2 separate regions of the Homo sapiens genome follow, and region 1 is linked to region 2. Evidence: promoter capture Hi-C in 16 types of primary human blood cells and fetal thymus (Javierre and others, 2016). All regions are on one chromosome and are shown on one strand. The core of a region is centred on a gene start or on the middle of the fragment in contact, and the rest is flanking DNA. Distances in the headings are between cores, read along the strand shown.

The links. The method cuts DNA at HindIII sites, captures the fragments that hold promoters and counts their contacts. A CHiCAGO score of 5 or more calls a contact.
Region 1: a contact is called between a fragment that was not itself captured here and the fragment with the promoter of EIF3J in region 2, in 1 of 17 cell types (erythroblasts). The highest score is 5.8, in erythroblasts.

Annotation. Positions count from the first base shown.
Region 1 is chr15:44,298,389-44,305,821 of GRCh38, forward strand. The region is part of intron 1 of GOLM2 (golgi membrane protein 2); the gene reads left to right. Among named protein-coding and RNA genes, the nearest start is that of GOLM2, 13 kb to the left of the region's middle. RefSeq lists a silencer at 2,083-2,377. The HindIII fragment of the contact is 1,276 bases long and covers 1,363-2,638 here.
Region 2 is chr15:44,534,442-44,541,664 of GRCh38, forward strand. It overlaps EIF3J (eukaryotic translation initiation factor 3 subunit J), which reads left to right and starts at 2,706. Exons shown (of 8, transcript NM_003758.4): 1 at 2,706-2,796; 2 at 2,883-2,986. The coding sequence starts at 2,754. It overlaps EIF3J-DT (EIF3J divergent transcript), which reads right to left and starts at 2,482. Exons shown (of 2, transcript NR_034170.1): 1 at 1,602-2,482; 2 at 64-1,033. RefSeq lists enhancers at 1,374-2,161, 1,849-2,298 and silencers at 2,469-2,638, 2,829-3,138, 3,159-3,208. The HindIII fragment of the contact is 7,095 bases long and covers 1-3,272 here.

The DNA.
Region 1 (7,433 bases), core at 751-3,250, 240 kb before region 2:
AAGTAGCTGGGATTATAGGCACCCACCACCATGGCCGGCTAATTTTTTTTTTTTTTTTTGTATTTTTAGTAAAGATGGGGTTTTACCACATTGGCCAGGCTGGTCTCGAACTCCTAACCTCAGGTGATCCACCCACCTGGGCCTCCCAAAGTGCTGGGATTACAGGTGTGAGCCACTGCTCCCAGCCATGCTTTTCCTTCTTTATACACCATTTACATTTATTGTTTGAGCTTCATTAACTTATTTTGTTCATTTTTTACTAATAGCTTATTGTTTGTGAACTTCGTTTTCTCAACGAAATTTTAAGTTCCTTGAGGAAGGACTATGTTTTAAATTTTTTCCTGCGGGAAAAATTGTTCTTAGTGCTGTTACAAAATGTACGAGGTTGATTTGTATCCCCTAAAAGGATATATTGAAGTCTAAATCACCTGTGAATGTTATCTTAGTTTGGGAATAGGGTCTTTGCAGATGTAATCAAGTTAAAATGAGGTCATACTGGATTAGGGTGGCCCCTATTCCATTATAACTGGTATCCTTATAAGAAAAAAAAATAGAATTAGGGAGAACACCAGGTGCATGAATACACAGAGACACACAGACACATTGCAGAGACCGCATGGCAGATAAAGGCAGAGATTGGAGTTATGTTTCCACAAACCAAGGAATGCCCAGGGCTACCAGAAGCCAGAAGCCAGGAGCCTCCCCCTAGAGGCTCCAGTGGGAACAGGGCTTTGCCAACACCTTGATTTTGGACTTCTAGCCTCTGAAACCATCCTCTAGCACTGTGAGACAATACATTTCTGCTTTATGCTATTCAGTTTGTGGCACTTTGTTATATCAGCCTAGGAAACAAATACACAAATGCATACTTAAAAGTTAATTTGATTTTTTGACTAGATAATTGTTTTTGTTTTTTTTTTTTGAGACAGAGTCTCGCTCTGTCGCCCAGGCTGGAGTGCAGTGGCGCGATCTCAGCTCACTGCAACCTCCACCTCCCGAGTTCAAGTGGTTCTCCTGCTTCTTCCTTCCGAGTAGCTGGGATTACAGGCACGCACCACCACACCCAGCTAAATTTTGCATTTTTGATAGAGACAGTGTTTCACCATATTGGCCAGGCTGGTCTTGAACTCCTGACCTCAGGTGATCCGCCCGCCTCGGCCTCCCAAATTGACTAGATAACTACTCTTATATAATATATACTGTGTGGCAGTATGGTTCACTGGAAAGAACAAGGGTTTTTGGAGTCAAACAGACTTGAGTTTATAATTCTACCATTATGTTACCTCTCCTTAAGCCTGTTTCTTCACTCATAAAATGAAGAGGATTCATGAAGTAAAATATTTAGAGGCCTGTCCCATACAAAGCTTGACATTTAATAATATTGGTTCCTTTCTTTCATGGGTGCATTGGTATAGCTAATCTTGAAGAAATTTGGGGCTAGGTGTAGTGGCTCATGCCTATAATCCCAGCACTTTGGGTGGCTGAGGCAGGAGGATCATGTGAGGCCAGGAGGTTGAGGCTAGCCTGGGCAACATAGCAAAAAAAAAAAAAAAAAAAAAAAAAAAGCTGGGCATGGTGACACATGCCCATAGTCTTAATTGCTTGGGAGGTTTAAGCTGGAGGATCACTTGAGCCCAGGAGTTTGAAGCTGCAGGGAGCTATGATTGTGCCACTGTGCCCTAGCCTGACAACAGAGCAAGACCCTGTCTCAAAAAAAGAAAGAAAAGGAAAAAAGAAAAGAAGAGAGGAGAGGAGGGGAGGGGAGGAGGAAAGAGAAGGAAGGAAGGAAGGGAGGGAAGGAAGGAGGGAAGGAGAGAAAGAGGAAGAAAGAGGGAGAGGGAGAGGGAAGAAAGAAAAGAAAGGAAGAAGGGAGGGAGGAAGGAAGGAAGAAGTTTAGTCTTGTATTATTCTATTGAAACCCAAGTATATTAATTCAGTTGACAAAAATTTATTAAATATATTGGGCACTTACTGTGCTATACACTAAAATGATCTTTGAAACAAGTTTTCACTTTTCTTTGTCTCCCTTTCTTATTTTTGTATTTCTCTGTTTTTTCTTACTCTCCTGATAAAGGACTGAGTAATCTCAGGAGGTTCCATGAAGATCATAAAACAAGCTGCTTTTTGAAAAATGATGACTAGGATTTAGTTGTGCAGAAAAAAGGTAAAAGGACATTCAAGGAGCTCCCTTTTACTTACTCCATAGAGGCAAACAAACAGTTCTTATAGTGTGGCATGTAACATCTGTCTCCTGAAGTGACAGGGAGTACCTTTTGACTTATGACCTCATTAAACAGGAGGAACTAGTCCTTACAATTTTTGGTTGAAGACCTTAAAGTTCCCCATGTTAGCCTCTTCCTCAAAAGAGAGTTAAAGTTTCCTTGAATTCAAAGTCCAGGCTTTTTTCTAGGGACAGACTGGGCATGCAGTAATTTCAGTTTCTCACAGTGCTTCAAGGCTCTCTTTCTTGTTCTTAATTAACTTTATCTAATTTTCTTACACTGTTTCTGGCCAGGTAGTTCCTCTTTTGAACAATGTTGCCACAGAGCTTTTGCTCAGATGCTTTTAATGTCTGATTCTTTCTCTTTTCCAAACTACACTTTTTCCCTGAGGATGACTTCAAAACTTACATCCACGAAGCTTTTTCTATTTAATATAAAATGATTTGCTTTCCTTTTACAATTTCAATTTTCTATATCCAATTTAAGTTCAACTTAGGGGAACATTTTTTCTCATTTGATGATTAACAAAGGCCTCTCATAGCTCACTGCAGCCTCAGACTCCTGGCCTCAAGTGATCCTCCCGCCTCAGCATCTCAAAGTGCTGGGATTACAGGCATGAGCCACCATGCCTGGCTACATTTTCACTCTTAAACTTGACTCTCTATAGCATTTTATACTGATGATCTCTCCTTTCTCTCCTTTTTGAAACTTCTTCCCTTTAGCTTTAATAATACCCATTTATCTTGGTTATCCTATCATTTTCCCACTCAATGTTTACATATGCTGTGCTTCCATCTTTAACCCCATTTTAATTTCTTTATTGAACAAATATGTTCAAGTTTCTATTTTGGATCAGTTACTATGCTGCATGCATATCACATAGTGAATGAGTGAACAAGACAGATATGGTATACATTGACTATGGAACTTACCCTTGAGCAGGGGCTATGAGGGGAAGACCTAACCTATTTTAGAGGCTTAGGGATGACATTCTTGAGAGTTTTAGTTGAGTCCTAAAAAAAAGATCAGGATTTAATGAGGCAAAGATTGAGTGAGAGGTTTGAGATAAGAGGCTCAGGAGAGATGAAAAGAGGGTTCCAGATGTAGAATGTTGCATATTTTATTTTATTGCATATTTTAAAGCACAGGATATCAGCCGGGTATGGTGCCACATGCCTATAATCCCATTTACTCGGGAGGTTGAGGCAGGAGAATTACTTGAATCCAGGAGGCAGAGGTTGCAGTGAGCCAAGATCATGCCAAGTGCACTCCATCCTGGGCTACAGAGGGAGACCCTCTCTCAAAAAAAAAAAAAAACTTAGGAGCCAAGGTCATGGCACCACTGTACTCCAGGCTGGGCAACAGAGTGAGATCCTATCTCAAAAAAAAAAGTTCACCATGTGGAATGAGGGAGCTAGAATGAGTGTGATAATATTTGATGTTGCACTACAAGACTGGATTCAGATTGTGAAAAGATTTGTGAGTCATGTTAAGGGCAATAGGAAGCCATTGATTGACTCTCTTTTTTACATTTAATTTTTTTTTTTTTTTTGAGATGGAGTCTTACTCTGTTGCCCAGGCTGGAGTGCAGTGTCACGATCTTGGCTCACTGCAACCTCTGTCTCATGGGTTCAAGCGATTCTCCTGCCTCAGCCTCCCAAGTAGCTGGGACTACATGCACATGCCACCACACCCAGCTAATTTTTGTATTTTTAGTAAAGACAGGGTTTTGCCATGTTGACGAGGCTGGTCTCAAACTCCTGGCCTCAAGTGATCTGTTCACCTCGGCCTCCCAAAGTGCTGGGATTATAGGCATGAGCCACCACGCCTAGTGGTTCTAGTTTTTTTCTTGTCTTCCAATGATATATTGTGAATTTTCTTTCTTTCCTATTTTTTTTGAGATGGGGTCTCACTCTGTTGCCCAGGCTATAGTGCAGTGTCACCATCTCAGCTCACTGCAACCTCCACCTCCTAGATTCAATCGAGCTTCCTGCCTCAGCCTCCCAGGTAGCTGGGACTACAGGTGCACAGTACCACACCCAGCTAATTTTTATTTTTTTTGTAGAGATGGGGTTTCATTGTGTTGCCCAGGCTGGTCTTGAACTCCAGGACTTAAGTGATCTGCCGGCCTTGGCCTCCCAAAGTGTTGGGATTACAAGCATGAGCCACCATATCCAGCCTGTGAATTTCTTGACTATAAAAATATAGTCTAGGCTGGGCGCAGTGGCTTACACCTGTAATCCCAGCGCTTTAGGAAGCTGAGGTGGGCGTATCACGAGGTCCAGAGGTCAACACCATCCTGGCCAACATGGTGAAACCCCGTCTCTACTAAAAATACAAAAATTAGCCGGGCGTAGTGGCGGACGCCTGTAGTCCCAGCTACTTGGGAGGCTGAGGCAGGAGAATCAATTGAACCTGGGAGGCAGAGGTTGCAGTGAGTGGAGATCGCGCCACTGCACTCTAGCCTGGGCGACAGAGCAATACTCCATCTCAATAAATAAATAAATAAATAAATAAATAAATAAATAAATAGTCTAAATCTAGTATAAATCTAACACTTAATATTTCATACTATTCCCTATGTCTGGACTCAGTAAATATTTGATGATTGATTTAGCAATTTGTATTGCTTCTTGAACCAACGGGTGCATAAATATGTACTAGGGCTACCACAGATATTATCCACATATCTGATTGCACTACCTTTTCTGGAAGACATAACTAAAATATTCAGATGTAAAACTACTGCTTGTCAACTCATCTTTCTAGTATACATAGAATATATCTTTTATTTGAAACGTGTTATAGTAGATCTAGAATAATATTTTATTCATTTAGAAACTCAAAAATATTTTTCTGATTCAATTTAGTGTTTAAGTGAAGAGAACAAAACCTTGGGATTAGCTTCATGGGGATATAATGAAAAAAAGTTTGAGTTATAAGCATAGCTTGGATTTTTGTTTGTTTTTTTTGGTGACAGGGTCTCATTCTGTCACCCAGGCTAAACTGCAGTGGCATGATCATGGCTCACTGCAGCCTTGACCTTCTGGACTCAAGCAATCCTCCTGCCTCAGCATCTGGAGCAGCTAGGACTACAAACTTGTGCCATCACACCTGGCTAATTTTTTTTTTTTTTTTTTTTTTGAGACAGAGTCTCGCCCTGTCACCAGGCTGGAGTGCAGTGGTGTGATCTCAGCTCAACGCAACTTCCACCTCCCAGGTTCAAGCAATTCTCGTGCCTTAGCCTCCTGAGTAGCTGGGATTACAGACATGCACCACCAGGCCTGGCTGATTTTTGTATTTCAGTAGAGACAGGGTTTTGTTGGCCAAGTAGGTCTCAAACTCCTGACCTTAAGTGATCCGCCTGACTCGGCCTTCCAAAGTGCTAGGATTACAGGTGTGAACCACGGTGCCTGGCCACACCTGGCTAATTTTAAAATTTTGTAGAGATGTGGTCTTGCTATGTTCCCCAGGGCTGGTCTTGAACTCCTGGCCTCAAGTAATCCTCCCACCTCAACCTCCCAAAGTCCTGGGATTACAGGCATAAACCACCATGCCTGGCCTATTCAAGTTTTATCATGAGATTGCAGTAATTCAGTCACGTCTTCAGGCTCCACTTCTTTTTTTTTTTTTTTTTTTTTTTTTTTTTGAGACAGAGTTTCACTCTTGTGTCAAGGCTGGAGTGCAATGGCATGATCTCGGCTCACTGCAGCCTCCGCCTCACAGGTTCAAGCAATTCTCTTGTCTCAGCCTCCTGAGTAGCTGGGATTACAGGCGCCCACCACCACACCTGGCTAATTTTTGTACTTTTAGTAGAGACAGGGTTTCACCAGGTTGGCCAGGCTGGTCTCAAACTCCTGACCTCAAGTGATCTGCCCTCCTCAGCCTCCCAAAGTGCTGGGACTACAGGCATAAGCCATCGCTCCCAGCCCTCCAGGCTCTACTTCTATTTCTAGTTCTCTCTCTTTCTCTCTTACTCAGTCACTTAGGCTGAATGCAGTGGTGCAATCACAGCTCACTGTAGCCTCAACCTCCTGGGGTCAAGCAATTCTCCCACCTCAGCCTCCTGAGTAGCTGGGCCACAGGCCTGAGCCATCACTCCTGGCTAATTTTTAAAAAATGGTTTGTAGACCAGGGTCTTGCTATGTTGCCCAGGCTGGTTTCAAACTCCCATACTCAAGTGATCCTCCTGCCCTGGCTTCCCAAAGTACTGGGATTACAGGCATAAGCCACCGTGCCTAGCCTAATTCTAGGTCTCTTGCTATTTGTACCACATCTGCAGTTACTTCCTCCACTGAAGTCTTGAATCCCCTCAAAATCATTCATGAGAGTTGGAATCAACTTATTCCAAACTCATGTTCCTGTTAATATTTTAGCCTTCTTCTATGAATCACAAATGTTCTTTTTTTTGAGGCACAGTCTCTGTTGCCCAGGCTGGAGTACAGTGGCACAATTCATGGCTCACTGCAGCCTTGACCTCCCTGGACTCAGGTGATCCTCCTATCTCAGCCTTCCGAGTAGCTGGGACTACAGGCACATGCCACCATACCTGGCTAATTTTGTATTTTTTGTAGAGGTGGAGTTTTGCCATGTTATCCAGGCTGGTCTCAAAATCCTAGGCCCAAGCAATTTGCCTGCCTTGGCCTCCCAAAGTGATGGAATTAATGGCCACTGTGCCCAGCCACAAATTATTATAATTTTTTTTTTGAGACAGAGTCTTGATCTGTCACTTAGGCTGGAGTGCAGTGGTGCGATCTCGGCTCACTACAACCTCTACCCCCTGAGCTCAAGTGATCCTCCCACTTCAGCCTCCGAGTAGCTGGGACCACAGGTATGGGCCTCTACACCTGGCTAATTTTTCTATTTTTAGTAGAGACAGGGTCTCCCCATGTTGCCCAGGCCCGTCTTGAACTCCTGAGCCCAAGTGTCCACCCGCCTCTGTCTCTCAAAGTGCTGAGATTATAGACGTGAGCCACTGCACCCAGCCTCTACAAATGTTCTTAATGGCATCTAGATTGGTGAATTCTTTCTAGAAGACTTTCAATTTATTTTGCCCAGATCCATCAGAGGAATTACATCATGGTAGGTATAGCCTTATGAAAGGTATTTGTTAAATAATAAGATTTGAAAGTAGAAATTACTCCTTGCTCCATGGGTTGCTGTTAGCAGACATGAAAAGATTAATGTCCTTGTAAATCTTCATCAGAGATC
Region 2 (7,223 bases), core at 1,456-3,955:
CTTCATATCTAGTCAGACACTATATTAGTACGGGTTCTCCAGAGAAACAGAATCAATAGGATGTGTATATGCAGAAAGAGATTTATTTTAAGGAATTGGCTCACATTATTCTGGGAGCTGGCAAGTCTGAAATCTGCAGGGCAGACAAACAGCCTGGAGACCCAGGGAGATTTGACGCTGCAGTCTGGAGGCTGAATTGCTTCTTCTTAAGGGTCTCGTTTTAATTTGAACTGACCGGATGCGGCCCACCCTCATTATAGAGGGTAATGTACTTTAATCAAAGTCTGCTGATTTAAATGTTAATCACATCTAACAAATACAATTCATAGCAACAACTAGACTAGTGTTTGACCAAAAACTGAGTAACATGGGTAGCATCGCCTAGCCAAGTTGATAGATAAAATTAACCATTAAAGTCACTAAGTTCCATTGACAATGACCTTTAAATATTTCTCAAGTTGGTTTCTTCTTCTCCATTGCCATTGCCTTAATTTAGGCTTGTGTTCTCGTTTAATTAATTCATAAAATACTTACGTATTAGGCATTATGCCAAATGTTGGAGATACAATTGTGAGTAAGATTGTGTCCTTAGGGACTTACATTCCACCCTTTTCCTGACTTCTTTCTTGCCTCCTTCCAATCCACATTTTTTTTTTTTTTTGGTCTTGTCACTTTGATGCCCAGGCTGGAGTGTAGTGGCCAGAACGTGGCTCACTGCAGCCTCAACTGCCTCAGCTTCCTGAGTAGCTGGGACCACAGGACCACAGGTGCACACCACTATGCCTGGATATATATATTTTTTTGTAAAGATGGGGTCTCACCATGTTGGCCAGGTTGGTCTCGAACTCCTGGGCTCAAGCGATCCTCCCGCTTTGGCCTCCCACAGTGCCGGGATTACAGACGTTGAGCCACCGTGTCCGGCCCTGATCCACCTTTATAAATGGCTGTCTGTAGATCATGGCCTCTCACATTTTAACTGGGCTGTAGAATATGTATTGAAGGATCATCTTTATAAAATGTTTATTTGTAGACTCTGAAAAGATAACACCAGAAAGGGGGAACAATGGTTACCACTAGAAAGAACGGAGCGGAGCAGCTGATCGTTGTATCTACCTTTTTTGTTTTTTTTTTTTTTTTGAGACGGGTCTAACTGTCGCCCAGGCTGGAGAGCCGTGGCGCGATCTCGGCTCACTGTTGCAACCTCCGCCTCCCGGGTTCAAGCGATTCTCCTGCCTCAGCCTCCCTAGTAGTGGGGATTACAGGCGCCCGCCACCACGCCCAGGTGATTTTTGTATTTTTAGTAGAGGTGGGGTTTTACCATGTTGGCCAGGCTGGTCTCGAACTCCTGACAGCAAATGATCCGCCCATCTCGGCCTCCCAAAATGCTGGGATTACAGGCGTGAGCCACCGCGTCCTGCCCACGTATCTACCTTTTTATCACATGAATGTTGTACCAAGTTCGCGTATTACATATTTGAAAATAAATTGCGAAAATAACAAAAACAAAATCCATCTACTGGCTAGCTCTTTAAAATCCTGCGGGGGAGCCCAGTGGCCCAACGGCGAAGTTTAGCCCATCTTGCCCTTTCTGGTCAGTGTACCTGTTCCATTTATCTCTGACTGCGCCACTCAGTCAGGTGAGGGACCACTGGAGTTTTCTACCGGAAATGCACTTCAGCAAATGCCACTTGCTCTCTCCAACTTCAGTTTCAACCAGCGCCTACCTCAGGAAGCCTTCCTTCATCCTCCGGCCCCCGCCGCCGCTAAGGTTATCCTTTTACATTCAACCTCATAATGCTGCTTTTTGTGGCAGTCATCACAGTGTCGAAATTTGTTTACATGTCCATCTTTGCTACTTGATGGAGGGCAAAGATACACCTCATACCTAGCATAGACCCCAGGAGGTCCGAAATTGTTCTGCGAAAGAAAAAAAAATCAATGTGCTGGCCTCAAAGGGGCTCACAGGAAGGGAAAAGCCTCGAAGACTAAGGCTCTCTTCGATTCCTTCGTGACTAACTCGAGGCAAACATGCCAGGAACGCGGCTCTCCCCACCCGCTCCTGCATCTGCGCCCGGGGATCGCCGGATTCCAGAGGGGTCCCCTCCACCTAGCGCGCGACGACTCCCTCTGGGGTCCCGGAAGCCCGGCCACCGACCCCACAGGCGGGCGTGGCCTCAGAGCCCTCTTCTGAGCACGGCGTGGGTATCCGCAGGCGGCCATGGACGGTGATCACAGTGACCAGAGGGACAGCGCACCCTCCGGTCGAAGCGGGGTAGGCGTTGGCAGGGGAGGGGCGACGAAGACTGGCGAGGTTCAGGCGCCAGCCAAAGAACCACTCTGCTAACTTCCTGGCACTTACGTTTCCTACCCGGGGCCCAGAGTCGGGCGGCGGTCTTCCAGCACCACGAACTCCAGTACTGGTCTGCGTTGTAGGGAGCTGGAAGCCCGACCCAGCACTCCTCAGCCCCCTGTGCCCCTCCCTCTGCTCTTTCCGCCCCTCCCTCCGCCCCCCTCCGCCCCCCCCTCCGCCTCTCCCTCAGCCCCGCAGCGCCACCGACCGCGTTCCCCGCCCACTTCTTACCCGCGCGCGTCGCCGCCGCCGCCTGAGGGGGCGTGGCCTCGGCTCGGCGCACAGTCAGCCACGGTCCCATCCTGCTCCGCGCCGGTCAACGAGAGCAAACCCAGTGACTCACCTCCGCCGTGCTAACTCCTCGCTAGCTCTCCCTCTCACACACGCTCACACCCGGCTCGAGATGGCGGCGGCGGCGGCGGCGGCGGGGGACTCGGACTCCTGGGGTGAGGAGAAGTTGCTGGGGCAGGGCCCGGGCCGGCGCCGGCCCCACGCAGTGGCAGGCACTAACACGGCTCGCTTTCTTCCGTAGACGCCGACGCTTTCTCCGTGGAAGACCCAGTGCGGAAGGTGGGGGGCGGCGGCACTGCCGGCGGGGACCGCTGGGAAGGCGAGGACGAGGACGAGGACGTCAAGGTGGGTGCGGGCTAGGGCGCCGGGCAGCGCGGAAGCGGGCTGGCGCTGTTGCCGGCCGACTCTGGGCCCCGGGTCGCTGCCGGGGCCTGCGGGCCGTGGGTCCAGGCGCGAGCATAGGGCCTGGCGGTGCTCTCTTCCCCTCCGCTTGCCGGCCATGTGTGGGCCGAAGACTGGCAGCGTGGCCTCCCGGACTCCCTCGCCGGTTGAGAGTCTGCTCTCCGGCGTGGATCCCACCCGCCGGCTGGCGACGAAAGGTGACAGCATCGGCCGGGTCGGCCCACGTGCAAGCTTCGCGGTCCGGAGCCTCTCGCAGGAATGAGACCGGGAAGTTGGGAATTGAGCCTTGTAGCTTATCCATATGGAAAGCCTTGAGACTCGCCTGTCTTTTCGAGCTCAAGTCAGCCCAGGGCCAGTAACTCATTTATGACCCTGAGGTCTACTTATACAGTTTGTTCGAGGGATTAGATGAGTGAAATATTGTAGTTGAATTTCAACCTTTTTTTCCCACACGAGACAGCTAGAAACAGTAAAGGGAAATAACTTTTGGCTCTCCCTTCCCCCACCCTGTGGTAAAAAGAATGAACTGACCACTGAGATAGCCCGCAGTTAGTGGACAGAAACCCAGGTAGTTCACACCGTGACCTGAGAAATGGAGAGACGACAGTTACTCAACTACACACATACGACACCTAAGGAAATATTGAAGATTTGGTGGTGGTTGTAGATGACGGGCCCGTGGTTTTTTGTTGTTGTTGTTGTTTTGTCTGTGCCTTGTAGATAATCATTTTTACCTCAGTCGTTTGATTTTGAAAACTCCGAAGGGTTCATTATACAGCTGTAAGTGACATTTACTTCTACATGGTTTTTTTTTTTTTTTACAGTAGTTACAGAAGTCTCAAATCCAAAATGTTAAGACTCTTATTAACAAAGTTCTCAAAATCTTGTTATATTTGTGCAGATAAAGTTTTGTGTGAAATGGAAAATGATTTTTTTTTGTGGTTTTGCCTAATTTAGTGAATTTCTCCTAATTTATAAACACAAACGGAGAACCCTATAAATCCTGCCTGGGCTGAAAAGTTTAAGCTAGATAATCACTATGAACTTAATAGGAATGTTGTTTTGAGTTTTTCTGTTCTCTCCCCAGTCCGATGAGGTTGGATGTGTGGATGTCCGATTTACTGACAGCCTGAGGTTCAAGAATGTTGTGAGCTTTGCACACATTGAAGTTAATAAATCGACTGGTTATTGTTTGAAGACACTCAGATGCTTTATTTACATGTTGTAGAAACATGGGACTAGATTTTGTTACCAGCCGCATTACAAGATATTAGTTACCCCTCTACATTGTAGCAGATTTTCAGTTTTGAGCCTTGGGTTCATATTGGTCCTTTCATTTTTTTCCATGCATATAGGAAGTGGCAGTTAAGACATCTGTTATGAAATTTGGGAATAAATTAACAAATGCAGAGAAAAGATTAGAGATATTAGGAAAGAAGTTGCAGAAAATGAAGTTTTAATGGATAGTCTAGACTAATGTCATGGAATAACTTCCTTGGGATTAAGGGATCTAAATGGTATCGATCTTGATGAATATAATTCTTTTTTTTTTTTTTTTTGAGATGGAGTTTCGCTCTTGTTGCCCAGGCTGGAGTGCAATGGCGCGATCTTGGCTCACTGCAACCTCCACCTCCTGGGTTCAAGTGATTCTCCTGCTTCAGCCTCCCAAGTAGCTGGGATTACAGGCACGCACCACCACGCCTGGCTAATTTTGTATTTTTAGTAGAGACGGGGTTTCGCCATGTTGCCCAGGCTGGTCTTGAACTTCTGACCTCAGGTGATTCTCCTGCCTTAGCCTCCCAAAGTGCTGGAATTATAGGCGTGAGCTACCGTACCCAGCCTCTGATGAATATAATTCTGATCACTTGGAACAAGTTTTGGATATTTACAAGTTGTAAGGGACCACAAAGATTATCTTGTCCAGTTGCTCTTTTTTTTTTGGAAATGGAGTCTCGCTCTGTCACCCAGGCTGGAGTGCAGTGGCACAATCTCCGCTCACTGCAAGCTCCGCCTCCCAGGTTCACTCCATTCTCCTGCCTCAGCCTCCCGAGGACTACAGGTGCCCACCACCACGCCCGGCTAATTTTTTCTATTTTTAGTAGAGACGGGGTTTCACCGTGTTAGCCAGGATGGTCTCAATCTCCTGACCTTGTGATCTGCCCGCCTTGGCCTCCCAAAGTGCTGGGATTACAGGCGTGAGCCACCACACCCGGCCCCAGTTGCTGTTTTAGTGCTAAATTTCTTTTTCTTTTTTTTTTTTTTTTTTAACTTAAAGCAATCTATCTATTCATCTAATTTTTTGAGAGAAGGTCTCACCCCGTTTCCCAGGCTGGAGTGCAGTGGCACGATCTCTGCAACCTCCGCCTCCCGGATTCAAGTGATTCTCCAGCCTCAGCCTTTCTAGTAGCTGGGATTACAGGTGTGCACCGCCGTGCCCAGCTAATTTACATATTTTTTTCTTTTTTTTTTTTTTGAGATAGAGTCTTGCTCTGTCACCCAGGCTGGAGTGCCGTGGCACGATCTTGGCTCACTGCAACCTCCGCCTCCCAGGTTCAAGCAGTTCTCTGCCTCAGCCTCCCGAGTAGCTGGGATTACAAGCGCCCACCACCACACCCAGCTAATTTTTGTATTTTTAGTAGAGACGGGGTTTCACCATCTTGGCCAGGCCGGTCTTGAACTCCTGACTTCGTGATCCACCCGCCTCGGCCTCCCAAAGTGCTGGGATTACAGACGTGAGCCACCGCGCCTGGCTATATATATATATATATATATATATATATATATTTTTTTTTTTTTTTTGTAGATACAGGGTTTCGCCATGTTACCTAGGCTGGTCTCAAACTCCTGAGGTCAAAGTGATCTTCCCGCCTCGGCCTCCCAGAGTGCTGGGATTACAGATGTGAGCCACTGCACCTGACCTATTTATTTTGAGACGGATTTGTGAGACTGGCTAATTTTTGTGTTTTTGGTAGAGGTGGAGTTTCGCCAAGTTGCCCAGGCTGGTCTCAAACTCCTGAGGTTAAAGCGATCTTCCCGCCTTGGCCTCCCAGAGTGCTGAGATTACAGGTGTGAGCCACTGCACCTGGCCTATTTATTTTGAGACAGATTTGTGAGACTGGCTAATTTTTGTGTTTTTGGTAGAGATAGAGTTTCGCCAAGTTGCCCAGGCTGGTCTCGAACTCTTGGAGTCAAGTGATCTATCCTCCTCAGCCTCCTAAAATGCTGGGATTATGGGCGTGAGCCAGCAGACTCAGCCATATCACCAAATTTCTGAATTCTTATGTTTTTGTACTTTTTATGAGGAGTTGCAGACAAGGCTTAGTTTCCGTGAGGTCTTCTGTTCATGTCAGCATCTAGTACTTAACCTTTAAAAATACAGGTTTAATGTCATTTGTAATGTCCTGGGAAATGAAAGGAAAACTGATGTTTTTGTTATTATAATTTGCTCCAGCACTTTACTCTCATTTAGTAGACTTAGTATTTTGCTGTCCTTGACTTTTCAAATAGCTGTCTGGCAGTGGCAGAAGTGGACTTAGGTGAAACTGTACAACCGTTAATATATATGGCAAGAAAAGACTATGCTTTTCCCCAGTTAAAAAGATGAGAACTCGGGAGCATAGTTTCCCATCACCCTGGCTTTATTTACCTTTTTTACTATCCTGATAGTTGTGCAGAGGTAGTGGGAAGAATTGTTCACTTGGCATATATGACTCCTTCCTCATTGCTGGTATGATATGTAGGATGTGTTGACTGAGAAGGCAGTGAGTACCTACTGGACACAAGGACAACATAACTTTTGCTCCATTTTACTAGTCTCCTAGCATTTCAGTAGAACAGTTTAGAAGCTAGATTTATTCAAAGGGTACAGAGTTTGCAGAAACTTATAGCTGTGTTCAGCCATCTCACGCATTTGCCTCTGTAACCATATAGCATTTCTTTTAAAAGATCCTGAAGAGGCTGAGGCAAGAGGATTGCGTGAGCCTAGGAGTTTGAAGCCAGCCTGGGCAACATAGCAAGACCCCAACACATTTAAAGAGAGAGCGATCCTGAAGAACAGATTTAGTTGAGCCTCTCTCGTCCTACTCATTCACTCTCTGTTAGGATCCTATTCCAATAAATAGTTTGAATCTACCAGATAGGGACAATTTTCAGGGGTTGGAAACAACTTCTAAAGAACAGG